Linked DNA regions of Homo sapiens: region 1 is linked to region 2. The links are contacts of gene promoters, found by promoter capture Hi-C in blood cells and fetal thymus (Javierre and others, 2016). All regions are on one chromosome and are shown on one strand. Each heading gives the region's core, a stretch centred on a gene start or on the middle of the fragment in contact. The rest is flanking DNA. Distances are from core to core; before and after follow the strand shown. Region 1 overlaps ETS1 (ETS proto-oncogene 1, transcription factor). Region 2 holds the start of ETS1-AS1 (ETS1 antisense RNA 1).

Region 1 (5,880 bases), core at 2,950-5,449, 41 kb after region 2:
CAGGTCCTTATCTCAAACCCATGCCCTGGTTGAACAAGCAGTGCCCACAGCCAACCCAAGAATAGTTTTTGTTTTTGTTTTTGTTTTTGTTTTCTGCAATCTTAATACACACTGCCTTGATGCATGCCCCATAATACCTCATCACATCCCGGGAAAGCTTAGCGTCTGAGACCGTATTAATAAGACAGATTTCTCTGCCCACTAACTGAATTGGAATTGCAGTAGTGCATCATACCTTTTACATCTGGAGCAGGAACTGGGGTTATATCAGGACGCTATGTTGCAACCTTATAATGACATGGCCTCCCCTAACAGCCTCTTCCAACCTTTTTGGACCAAGTGACTCATGTACCACAGTCCTGGCTGAGTATAGAAACAGCAGCAGGCGGCAAACTTGGGTGTTTTTGTGCTTATTTTTTTGAATTTTTTCTTAAAATAAATTGCAGTTACCAGCAGTCAGCAGTGCCCTTCAGCTGACTGTAAGCCTAGAAGCCCATTGCCCTCTCTAACCCAGGCCCATCCTTTCCCTGTGGTCATCAGCTCTAACCCTTGGCACAGACGCTGGGGGAGGGGAGCAAAACTCAGGATTAGCACTTTTACCCCGCATTATACCTTCCTTTGGTTAAGAATATATTCCATTCTGCAGTGCTCAAGAGAGACCCAAACTAGATTTCTCTGTGCTCAAAAATGTTATCTTTATTCCTTCTTTTCACTTTCTGTTGAAAAATAAGACATAAAGGAATACAGGAAAGAACTAGGTGAGTCTTTCTGTGGCTGCTTTTACCGAGGATGGCAGGCAGTTGCAAAGCACCGGCATGTTCTCCATGCACAGACACCCACTCATAGGTGTTGACATGAGCGACCTGTTTATAGAGGGAAACGATACGGCAGGCTCCTAACAGATCTGATTTGACTGTTGACTTCTAAACACAATAGCAGATTCAATCAGACTGTGTAACCCAGTATATTCTACTAAGAGGCTGTTTTCCTCCATTTATCAAAATGGAGCTGCTAGGTGTTTTGGGCTATCTAAGCCCATCTCTGATTGTAGTTACAATTAATATCTCTATCATGTCTCCCTGTTTCCAAAGTGCTTTCAAATACATTTTCTCTTTGGATTATCAAAATAACTGTGAGATAGTAAGGACAAGTCCTATTATTGTCCTTGTCTGTAAAATGAAGCTCAGGGTAGGCGATTTCTTCAGTATCACTCATCTCCTTTTCTTCATTTTATTTCAACTTTCAGTATATTTTTATTTTATTTTATTTTATTTATTTTTTGAGACAGAGTCTTGCTCTGTCACCCAGGCTGGAGTGCAGTCGCGCGATGTCGGCTCACTGCAACCTTCGCCTCCTAGGTTCAAGCGATTCTCCTGCCTCACCCTCCTGAGTAGCTGGGACTACAGGCGCATGCCACCATGCCTAGCTAATTTTTGTATTTTTAGTAGAGTCAGGGCTTCACCGTGTTGGCCAGGATGGTCTTGATCCCTTGACCTCGTGATCTGCCCACCTTGGCCTCCCAAAACACTGGGATTACAGGCGTGAGCCACCGCGCCTGCCCTCAATATATTTTTATTTAACTTAAAATTTAACATCCCATCCTGTGCTTTTTGTATAATAATGTGGATTCACAGGGGCCTTCTGGCCGCTAAGACTGGTTTGGCCTCACTTAGGGTAAAGGAATAATGTAAGAAAATTTAAGAGAATTAGGATATAAGTCAGTATGTTTGAGAGCAAAAGTCATATCTTCCCACCCAATATTCTGTTGAGAGAGGCAGAAAGAATTCTCCCTCTTCAGGTTCAGTTACTTGAAGAGATGAGCATGATGTTTGTGCTGAGGCTACAGCTTTTGTTCTGTAATTAAAGCAACACAGCAGCAAAAGAACATAGCTGTTTGGGGTGGGGTGGAAGGTGAAAGGTACGGGGATGTTTCAATCTGATAAACTGCTAAAGCAAAGTTTAATCATTTTATCTCAACTGGGAACTGTTTTTCTGTGCAGGCATAAACTTGTTTTCCCATCAGACTTTGCTCCTAACAAGCTATCAAATACCTGAGGAAAAACCCAAACCCATACTCTATGTCAGATTCTTATGGTGAAATATAATCAGACTACTCCATACAAGAATCGGAGCCATGGCATTTGTTCCAGGGTAATTAGAGGATCCCAGGCTTACTGCAGGGTCGTTCAGAGCTTTCTGTCCGCAGGTGCACTTCGTCTCCCTTCCTCTCCTTTTCCTAGGGGAGTTGGCATCTGGGCAGGAGCTTGACTGGGTTGCTCTTCTCTCCCTTGACACAAGCGCAGTCGCATTTCACCAAATGGAGTCACCTTACCAGTGTCCTGCTTCTTGTCTGGGCCTGAACTTGAAACCTGAGGGCAATGGGAAAAATACAAAACAAAAACCAGACATCTGTTAGAGGAAATGGAGAACGTAAAATCTATGGCCTAAAGACTGCAATATATTTTTGAGAAATTTTGAAATTGATTAGTTTGGGGGTTGGGGATTGATCCTGCTAACCTGGGATGTACTCAAGCCTTTGGCTATAGTGTGGTCGACATACACGCAGCACGAATGCATTGAGAATGAATGCTGAATGCCTTCTGAGCCCTTAGAGATTACTCATGGATTCTCTTTCCAAGATACTAAATCCCATTTTGCAGCTACTGAAATAATAACCTTAGTCATATTTTTTTGATCTCATCTTTAGACAAGGCCACAGTCAGGACAGACTCAGATACCAACCCAGTTAATGAGTATGCAGATTTCTTAGAAAAGGGGTTGAGATCATTGTGGTCTTTGCATCCAAGATCCTTTTAGGCCAAGCATGACTTGAATATTGACCTCTTTGTTCCTTCCCTATCTGTTCATTACAGAGGATGTGAAACCATATCAAGTTAATGGAGTCAACCCAGCCTATCCAGAATCCCGCTATACCTCGGATTACTTCATTAGTAAGTTCATTTCTACCCCTCTTCTCTCATGATAATAGCAAACTAGGAAAAGACCCCTATCTCAGTGAATCTCAGGCTCCTTCATGGTAATTCTATCAAAAATAATATCTTCTTAGATGTAGACTCTTCTTTGTTACTTTATTTTATTATTTTCCACAAAGCACAAAGTTTCAACCTATATATATGTTTCATTAACCTACCAAGTTCCTACACACTAGGATCCTTCTCTGATGTCTTCACCTGAAAGTCATGCAGAGAGACTGCAACTAGACCCCTAAACTTTTGTTCCTATTTGATACTGTGCACTACGATGGCCAAAAGAGGGTTGGGTTAGGGATTTGATCTTGGTCTTTGTTCTTTCCTTTTTACTAGTGGAGATAACAGCATTTCCTCCAAAATCCTTCTTTAAGAGTGTGCTATGCAGCTTCAAATTCTATTATAGGAAATACAGTCTTCTCCTTTTTCGTGTAAGATACCCAACCATACTGAAGAGATGGCCTGAGGGAAACAATGAATGTAGGCCTGTTGCACTAATGTAAGCTCTGAGATATAGGACCATCTTATCTGATGGCTGTGCTTTTACAGGGAATATGAAACAGGTTTTATTTTTTTCGTTTTATCTTTTTACGTTATTACAATTTTTATTCCAGTGACACAATGATATTAACTACTCTGTGTCAAGAGCTTATTGTGTGGGGAATGTTGGTGGGCATTTGACCTCTATCCTCATTTCATCTTCATCACAGTGCTCCGGGAAAAATCGCAATCACCCCCATTTTAGAGATGAGGATATGAAGTCAGGAAATCAATTACCTTGTCAAGGGCTAAAGCTGTTTAGTAGTGGACAAGGTTAAAAATGCAAGCTTTTCTGATTTAAAGTATTTTCCCTTATTCTCTAAGGAGCTTGTCCCACATCATAGGGCCCTGTAGATGGTGAAAACTGCTTATTTTAGGTACAAATCTCTCCTCTCTTTACTTGCAAACCCTTTGTTTCCAGGCTATGGTATTGAGCATGCCCAGTGTGTTCCACCATCGGAGTTCTCAGAGCCCAGCTTCATCACAGAGTCCTATCAGACGCTCCATCCCATCAGCTCGGAAGAGCTCCTCTCCCTCAAGTATGAGAATGACTACCCCTCGGTCATTCTCCGAGACCCTCTCCAGACAGACACCTTGCAGAATGACTACTTTGCTATCAAACAAGAAGTCGTCACCCCAGACAACATGTGCATGGGGAGGACCAGTCGTGGTAGGTCATATTTCTTCTCTAAAAGCTCTTGGGTTTACAAGAATTACCTGACTTTGTGAGTTTTTTTCAGGTTCCATTTTTTTTTTCTTATTTATTAGACCTGTAGATTCCTCAGTTTCAGCCTTCCCATCTTAGAGTGTCCAGATACTAAGAACTTTCCATCGTGGTGTTTTAGCCAAGTCCATTATTATGACAAAGGCCATGGGGTCCACAGTGAAATCAAAATCAGGCAATCTAAGAAATTAAATATCTTACTTGGGCAAAATGTTTTACTCAATAACTCTAGTTGAATTTGGTCATTTTGAAAGGTATGCTCTATTTTCCTTGAGGAGGACATAATCAAGTAAAAATGGTTCAAGTGGCCACCCTGGAAAACCCTTAAGCTTAGCATGTGTCCTGGTGCTCCTCCCAGAGGACTCCTGGGTCTGACTGTAGATCCTAGCTGGGTACCTGGAATGACCTCTGCTGGCCAGCCTGGGATCTTTAGCCTCCTGTGACTTTTTCGGTTTGGGAAGATACAAGATGGTTAACCAACGGTTTATTTGGAACCAGTCATCAGCAGTGTGGTGAAGTGTGTATTTAGCTAGAGGACCAGGGACGGAGGTGGCCAGGGGTTTCCAAAAGAAGGTAGTTTTGTTAACGTGACTATTATAATAGTGATAAAATATTCACTGTCAGGGAAGAAAGTGTTTAAAAATAGAGCTGGGTGACATAAAGCAAAAAAGGTAAAATGCACCCAATTTTTAGGAACAGGACATAAACACTCAGAGGTACAGCCTACCTAGTAAAGTGTCCAGATTGTTTTGTTTCTGAGAAAAATGCAATCTATTGTAAGAAAGGGTTTGTCTATTTAGCAAGAGCTAGATGATTTCTAAAAAGGTGAAAAACCTGACTTTTCTGGTGGGTAAATGGGAAAGAATTATAAATGGGAAGAGGAACAGGAGAAAGCTGATCAAGCGGGGCTTGGGTCAGATGTCAGGCTGGGGCTGGCCTATTAGTGATTTCTGCTCAATGACTGACCATATGCGGTGCCTATTGTGAGGCTCTTGGAGGAGAGCCCAATGGTACCTTTACTTTGAAGAATCATGGGTCATGCCCATTGTCGTCTTCTTCGAGTATTCAGACTCACACTTCCTCCTAGCAGGCCTAGGGATCACCAACAAGCCCTGCAGAGGGAAAGTCCCTGCAAAATCAGAACCCCTAATCTTCCTTCTTAAGGCCCCAGGGTGTTAGTGTTTCAGACCGAAGGGGATGGGTGGGACCAGTCGGCCTTCCCCTTTCTGGCTCTTTTTTATTTTTGGGTGCATGTCTATTTAAATACATACACACAAGTGTGTGTACATGTGTTTCTTTTTTATCAGGCGAGTCAAAGCATTAAAACGACTTTCTTCCTTGTGGGACTTTCTGTACATCTACACAGTGAGGCCAAGCCTGTGGGTTTGGGCTCAGCCATGTTGTAACTTTGGGTCGATCTCCTGTCACATTGTTTTGAAATTGCATCTGGCTTTGCATTTGTGTAATTGTCTCTTTCCCTCTCCTTTTCTTCATTCTTGGTTTTGGTCCCTACCACCCCTCCAACCCCAAACTAATGACTGTGGACCAAAAGTGACCCTTACAAGGAGACATGAGGTATTTCTTTCTGGCTCCACTCTTCTTCCCTCCCTCCAAGTTCAGGCCACAGAA
Region 2 (6,078 bases), core at 2,622-5,121:
TTAATGAATTTATGTTCCTGCATATTTATGAAACTCAGATTCTGTGCACCCTTTTCAGGAGAGTACATACCAGAAAAGAGGTTTAAAGCAGCATGGGAACTTAAAAAGTGCTATGCATTTTACTTCCTCTGTTGGTAGAGTTAGCATTGGTGAAGCTAGGATTCATATTAATTCATTATGACACTATAATGCTGCTCATTGAAGGATGCCTAAGGTAAGATAGGCATAGATTCTTGAGTAAAATGTTTGTGGATGACTGCAGTGACATACTCAAAGAATGTTATATTTACTGGCTAAGCAGGCTGTTCTTAGTGTGACACATCAATGTTTTCTTGGGGCTCTTATACGGAACTGGTTCTGGAAGAAGTGATGTAAAATAATGTGTGTTCATGATTCCCCCTCAGAACTCAGGAGAAATCATGAGCCCTCACCAAATCCAATATTTCCTTGGTTTTTAGGCTTTAAGATCAGCTGCCTTTTCTGTTCCAACATCTTGATTACCCATTAGTAGATACAAACAACAAAGTGCAGAGAGCAATACTCTACTTCGACAAAAGTGGTTAGGGCTGCTTTCTATATTTCTGTGCCACCTGCTAGATTGTAGCAGCTCCATTTGATCCTCCCTGTCCTTTTCATTCCCATCTTCACTCTCAGCCCATCCCCATGTCCCCCCATTTCTACTTCCAACCCATACCCTTCCTCAATATAGAATCACCTGTATAGCCAGAAGATATATTTCAAAATACAGTGCTTCTGGAGTCCTGACAGATTAAACTTGAGAAGGTGAAAGGGATTTGTAGTAAGCACCCTGGCTCACCATAAAGCATGTAACAGTCTATTCTTTCTCATAAAGATGGAGGAAATTGAGTTCATTTCATGTATTTCCCTTATCTTACAAATAATGTATATAGCAGTTGTACATCTTACCTTTGTGGAAGCCAGTGAAATAAAAGATTCAACTCGAAGTTCGGAAATTCCTGAAGACTGCTTCTGAGCAGCCATCTGAGAATATGAATAGCGTGATGTATAAAACGTCCAGGCTGACAATCAAACAACTGATTTACTTCGTGGTGAGCCAAATGTCATTTTTTACATGAAGTCTCAGAATAAAAAATTAGATAAAAAGTAAAATGAATATTGTGATCTTAGCAACATTCTCCTTTAAGGGGATGGGAGGAATGGGAGGAACAGAATAAAACTTTACGAAGACCTTTTTAGTTAGAAATGAGTCAGTTGGTTGGATCTTTAATCTTAAACTTTGGGCAAATTTGAGTCTCACTTCAGACCGAACTAGGCAAAACAAAACTGGTATCTGAGCTTCATTTTTCTGTAAAAATGTTACGGGGATGTTAGGAAGTTAACTGTTCATTAATTAAATAATGAACATAATTTATGGGGCTCTTACTACCTTGAGCTAAACACCATGGAGTGTAATAATGACTGAACCTCAGTTGCTGCCTTTAAAGAGTGTAGGAGACTGACACGCATATTCAAATATGTACTAGGAGTGTGCTCTTGAGCTGAGCAGAAAAGTGGCAACTTGCAGGGGTGGGGTGACAGCTTCTGTGAGGGAAATTCTTTGTGTACTGCAAATGTCCATGTGAGGAAAAGACTGAGAAACACACTCTATATTCTGCCTAGATTGTCAGCTTGACCTTCCCTTGTGTCTTCTGTGACCTCCTGAGATCCTTTCACCTCCATTCTATCCTGGATCCTTTGCATCTCTTCCAGCATGAGGACCTCCCATTGATCTGTTTTCTGTAGTTCCATGACTGTTGGCCATGCAAGACAATTAATTAAAGTATGGGATACTTTACTAGGTCTTAACTGCATTTTGAAATCTTGGGGACTGAAGTCCCAGAACGACAAGAACATAAAATCACTGTGACTCTACCTCCTCATCTCCTCCCCTTCTCTGTCCTCGACTTACACTTCCATTGTTCTCAGAGGACTTCCCTTCCACTACTTCCTCCTGTACCACCGTCCCTTTTCCTTTCAGGGCTATTTCTCCTTTTTGTGCTCCACTTATCTCTGCTTCTTGATCTCTGGGGTGGTAAATGTTAGTCTTTTGGGGCAATTGATTTGGCATTTTAAATGAAAGTAGTGGGGAGAGGGGAAAAGATTCCACAGTGAAATTGTCTTAATGTAAGATTCAAACCACAACTGCAGAGAACATCTGTTTTGAAGTTTGATGTTGTCTTTGTAACCCAAGAGAAAAGCAGAGTAAGATCAGAGGAAGGCCTTAGCCTTCCACCAGGATGAAACCACCTGCAGCCTTGGACAGTGGGTGAAATCCTGTAGCCCTGGGATGCAGAGCTTCTAGGAGACTGGCTGTCCTCTTCTCTCATATTATTAAAGGATGTTGGTTCTCTTGCCATCTGTGCTATTGCCATTATCCCTCTACCTCCTCAAGAGTCCAATTCAGGACAATTTAAATTGGAATCCCAATTACATGATCCCCAAAGGCTCACAGAGTAGCCTGCATTCTGCATTTGCAGCAATTCCAGGCAACATGCTCAGCCTGCTTCAGGGAAGCACACAACACTGAGTGTGGATGAGACCTCAGAACCCTCTAACCTTGGGCAGCTCCTTACCTCTTCCTGTCTGAGCCATGTTTGATTTGCTGCAAGAGGAATACGTGTCTAAACTGCTGGATTTTAAAATGTCGCTTGGTCTGTGGATTAGGCCAATCCACCCCACATTGTTGGGGCTGCAGATGCAGTTGAATGGTTCATAATTATAGTCTAAAGAAACTGCAGACAGCAATAGAGCCAACCCAGGCCCTTTCTCTCCTGACAGCCCATGCCAAGCTGTCTCCCACAGGGAACCATAGTGTGGTTATCCTGCAATGTATTTGCCCAAAGACAATACATCCAGTGTAGAGAAGTTGGATTTCTAGAAATTGAGTCTGCTCATCTATCTACTCCCATGTCCATTGTATCCTGTCTTGTGTCTCAAGGGTGTCTGGTACTTCTCCTGCCAAAGTGAAATGCAAAGTAAATGCAAGGAGATGCCAGGGAGAGAACTGCTATCAGGGCATCTGGTTCTAGTACTGACACTGACTTTTTTAGATTGTGTGGCCCTGGAAATAATAATTTCCTCACTCACACTCATTTTTCACCTCTGGTAAATAGGAGTGCTGGACTTGGAGAGCACTGATAAACTCCCATTGAGCTCTAACATGTGACAAATCCAAGACCTAAGGTTTTGTCTCCAAAGAGGCACTACAAATGTGATCTTCTTTCAGAATTTAAACTGTCACTTTTCTGTGACTCAAAACAAATATAAATCTAGTTCTCTTCTCCAATCAGGTAGTTCTCGAATTTCTCAAGTGAGGCTGATGCTGGGCAGGTTGCCAGTTTAAGAACTGAGGAAGGGTCTTGAAGAGATTTTTAAATGAAATGTGGTGATAGTTGTTCTATCTCTCGCTGGAGATCGTTCAGGAAAATTGAGCATCCAAGCTATTCTGCAAAGAGATGGCTGTAGACAGACATTTAATGTGATTTCCCACATATTCTACCGTATACTAGATCTTAATAACAATAATCAAATACTAATTCTCACCTAGACACTGTGCTAAATTCTTTGCATACATTATCTCATTTAATCATTCAAATAGCCTTAAAAGGTGTGTGCTGCTATTATCCCTAGTTGAAACATGGAGGAACTGAGGTTCGGGATTGTTTAAATGACTTACCTGTGGCAATTCAGCTGGCTAGTTGGTAGAGTAAGAATTTGAACCTGAGTCTTATTCCAAAGCCCACACTACTATCCTCTTTGTTTTCTTATATTGAGCTTTCCAGGGCAAACAGGCTCCCAAGTCCTCCCCTCTCCCCCAACCCCACCCCACCCTCCCTTCTTCCCTCCTGACTGCAGCTCCTCCTACCCTCATTGTTTATTGTGCCTTCTAAACAATAGCCAATGAGTCTGTGTTCCATTCTAGGGAGAGCTAGGGCTGATTTTATTCCCTGAAACAGAGATGAGGTTGTGACACAAAAAGGTTAAGTGGCTTTGGTGAGGTCACAGAGCCAGCCTGCAGTCAGCAACAGTACCATCTGAGTCCCCTGGCTTGGGTCCCTTAACTGACCCTAAGGCTTTTTGGCATCCAAGTTTAATTAAGAGAGTTATTTTAATTTTCCTTCCTATCTCTAATTTTCCATTTTATTGCTGCTTGATAATGTAGATATTGAAGTGCCAGGCATTTTTCTTCCCTAGTGTGACTTTTAATGACTAAACTTCTCACATAGAAACCACTTGCCTTAGAAGTAAGCTTTCAAAGCTTGTTTCTGTGTATGACAGAGACTGTTGCCTTTTCTCAGAGAAAAATGAGACCACAAATGCAGCTCAGACAGGTTGTTGTTAATTGAGGGCTTTTTTTTTTTTTTTTTTTTTTCTAAATCTTACATTTATACCAGTAAATCAACATCTGTGAGTCATAAACTGGTTCTGGATCAGCCGTTAGTGGTCTGAATGTTTTTGTACCTACCTTCAGTAAAGCATATTTTAGCTCAAAACTCAGAGATTCTTTGTTTTGTTGAAGTTCAAGACTCAGGAGTAGATAACATGCTAGGACACTTCTGGAGAGGGAAAGTCTGTCTTCCATGATTGTTCAACATTAAGTGTATATTTATATTTCTTTTTTATTGAAGTTGGGGTGGAGTTGAGGGAGGAGTATAAATAAAAAAGAAAGTATGCTTTTTACATACTCCATGTGCTTGAGGAATTCCTGTATGAAGGTGACTATTTTCTTAATATTATTGTCTAGCTCCACTCTTCTGTTCCCCAACTCCTGCGGACTTTTCTTGGCCCTTATTGACTTCACGTTCCTAGTGTAAGGCAATTCAGCACTTGGTAGGATATAATTAGCCGAAGTCTAAGGAATGCTTAAAAATACAATTCTGTTTTTTCCCAAATGCAGGAGGAACAGACTGCTGCAGTACAAGCACAAGCACAGAAGTATTTATTTGATTGATTTTTTTTTTTCCTGAGTGCCTTAAAAACCAGATATGGTATTGAAGTATCTTGCCCAAGTGGATGAAAGGCAACGCTTGGCTGCTGTTGTTTGGCTGGTGGGGACACTGAGGCATACATGTAACCGAGTGGACGTGAGTGCTGGGGATAGAGGTTCTGCTCTACTATGAAGGGAAAAGGGCACAGCCTCTGACACTTTTTAGTTCATCTTCACAAGCCAGAGCATATCAAACTCACTTAATCATTGAATTAGGAAGCCCATAGTGACCAAAAAGTTGATAGTTCATCATTCAACACATATTTATTGAGCTCTGTAATGTCTTAGGCACTAGGCTAGGCATCAATGTTTTAGCGTATGATAACATAGAAATATCATTTAAAGTCCATATGAACATTTAGAAAAATCTACTTGTGTCCTAAAGAGAATGAATAAAAATTTCATTTATCAACATTGATTAGATTAATGAAACATGACCCTGGCAGACCTGATCAGATTATTATATCTTAAATATGTAAAAAATATTTTAACATGACCTTATTAGTGCTCTTCATCCAAATCCAGGGTTCGATGCATAACTTCTGATGGCATAAATATTCATAATTAATATCATCTGGAGGTAACTTTCCTGGCAGCCTGTGGTGGCGCCTGGCTATCTCTCCAAACTGCTGCTTTACGCAACCCTATTCCTTGATTTGGACATTCACTCATTTTGTTTCTGTGCTTCAGGACTGGATTAGGAAACGGATGATTGACTATCTGAGTTGTCACTATGGAAGAATTAGAAAGAATAATTTTCCTCATTGCTAGAGTGGAAAGTGTTTACAGTTTAATCATGGTGGGCTTTTTTAGTATCTAATTTGGGTGGATGTTAGCAGCAGTGTTTAGGCTAGTCTGGGGAAGAAAGTTGAGGAGCAAACTGGGGAAGAGAGAAAGGAGTTGCTCTGAGGAATCTGCATTTGAAAATAGAGAAGTACTCACACTTGGATTAAAAAATGCCAACATTTTCTCAATACAACATCAACAAAACAAAATTCCCCAAAGCAACTCTAGATTTGTTCACTTCTTCTCCTGATGAATTCATAGTGAGTAAGGCAGAATTGATTCAA

Evidence for each region. The method cuts DNA at HindIII sites, captures the fragments that hold promoters and counts their contacts. A CHiCAGO score of 5 or more calls a contact.
Region 1: a fragment that was not itself captured here is called in contact with the fragment with the promoter of ETS1-AS1 in region 2 in 7 of 17 cell types (activated CD4 T cells, total CD8 T cells, non-activated CD4 T cells and 4 more); the score reaches 11.2 in activated CD4 T cells.

The regions. Positions count from the first base shown.
Region 1 is chr11:128,483,140-128,489,019 of GRCh38, reverse strand. It overlaps ETS1 (ETS proto-oncogene 1, transcription factor), which reads left to right. Exons shown (of 10, transcript NM_001143820.2): 6 at 2,874-2,951; 7 at 3,949-4,197. Among named protein-coding and RNA genes, the nearest start is that of MIR6090, 36 kb to the left of the region's middle. RefSeq lists an enhancer at 5,473-5,542. The HindIII fragment of the contact is 766 bases long and covers 3,817-4,582 here.
Region 2 is chr11:128,523,935-128,530,012 of GRCh38, reverse strand. It overlaps ETS1-AS1 (ETS1 antisense RNA 1), which reads right to left and starts at 3,871. Exons shown (of 4, transcript NR_120581.1): 1 at 3,698-3,871; 2 at 2,595-3,480; 3 at 928-1,002. All of the region lies in intron 3 of ETS1 (ETS proto-oncogene 1, transcription factor), which reads left to right. The HindIII fragment of the contact is 5,425 bases long and covers 1-4,272 here.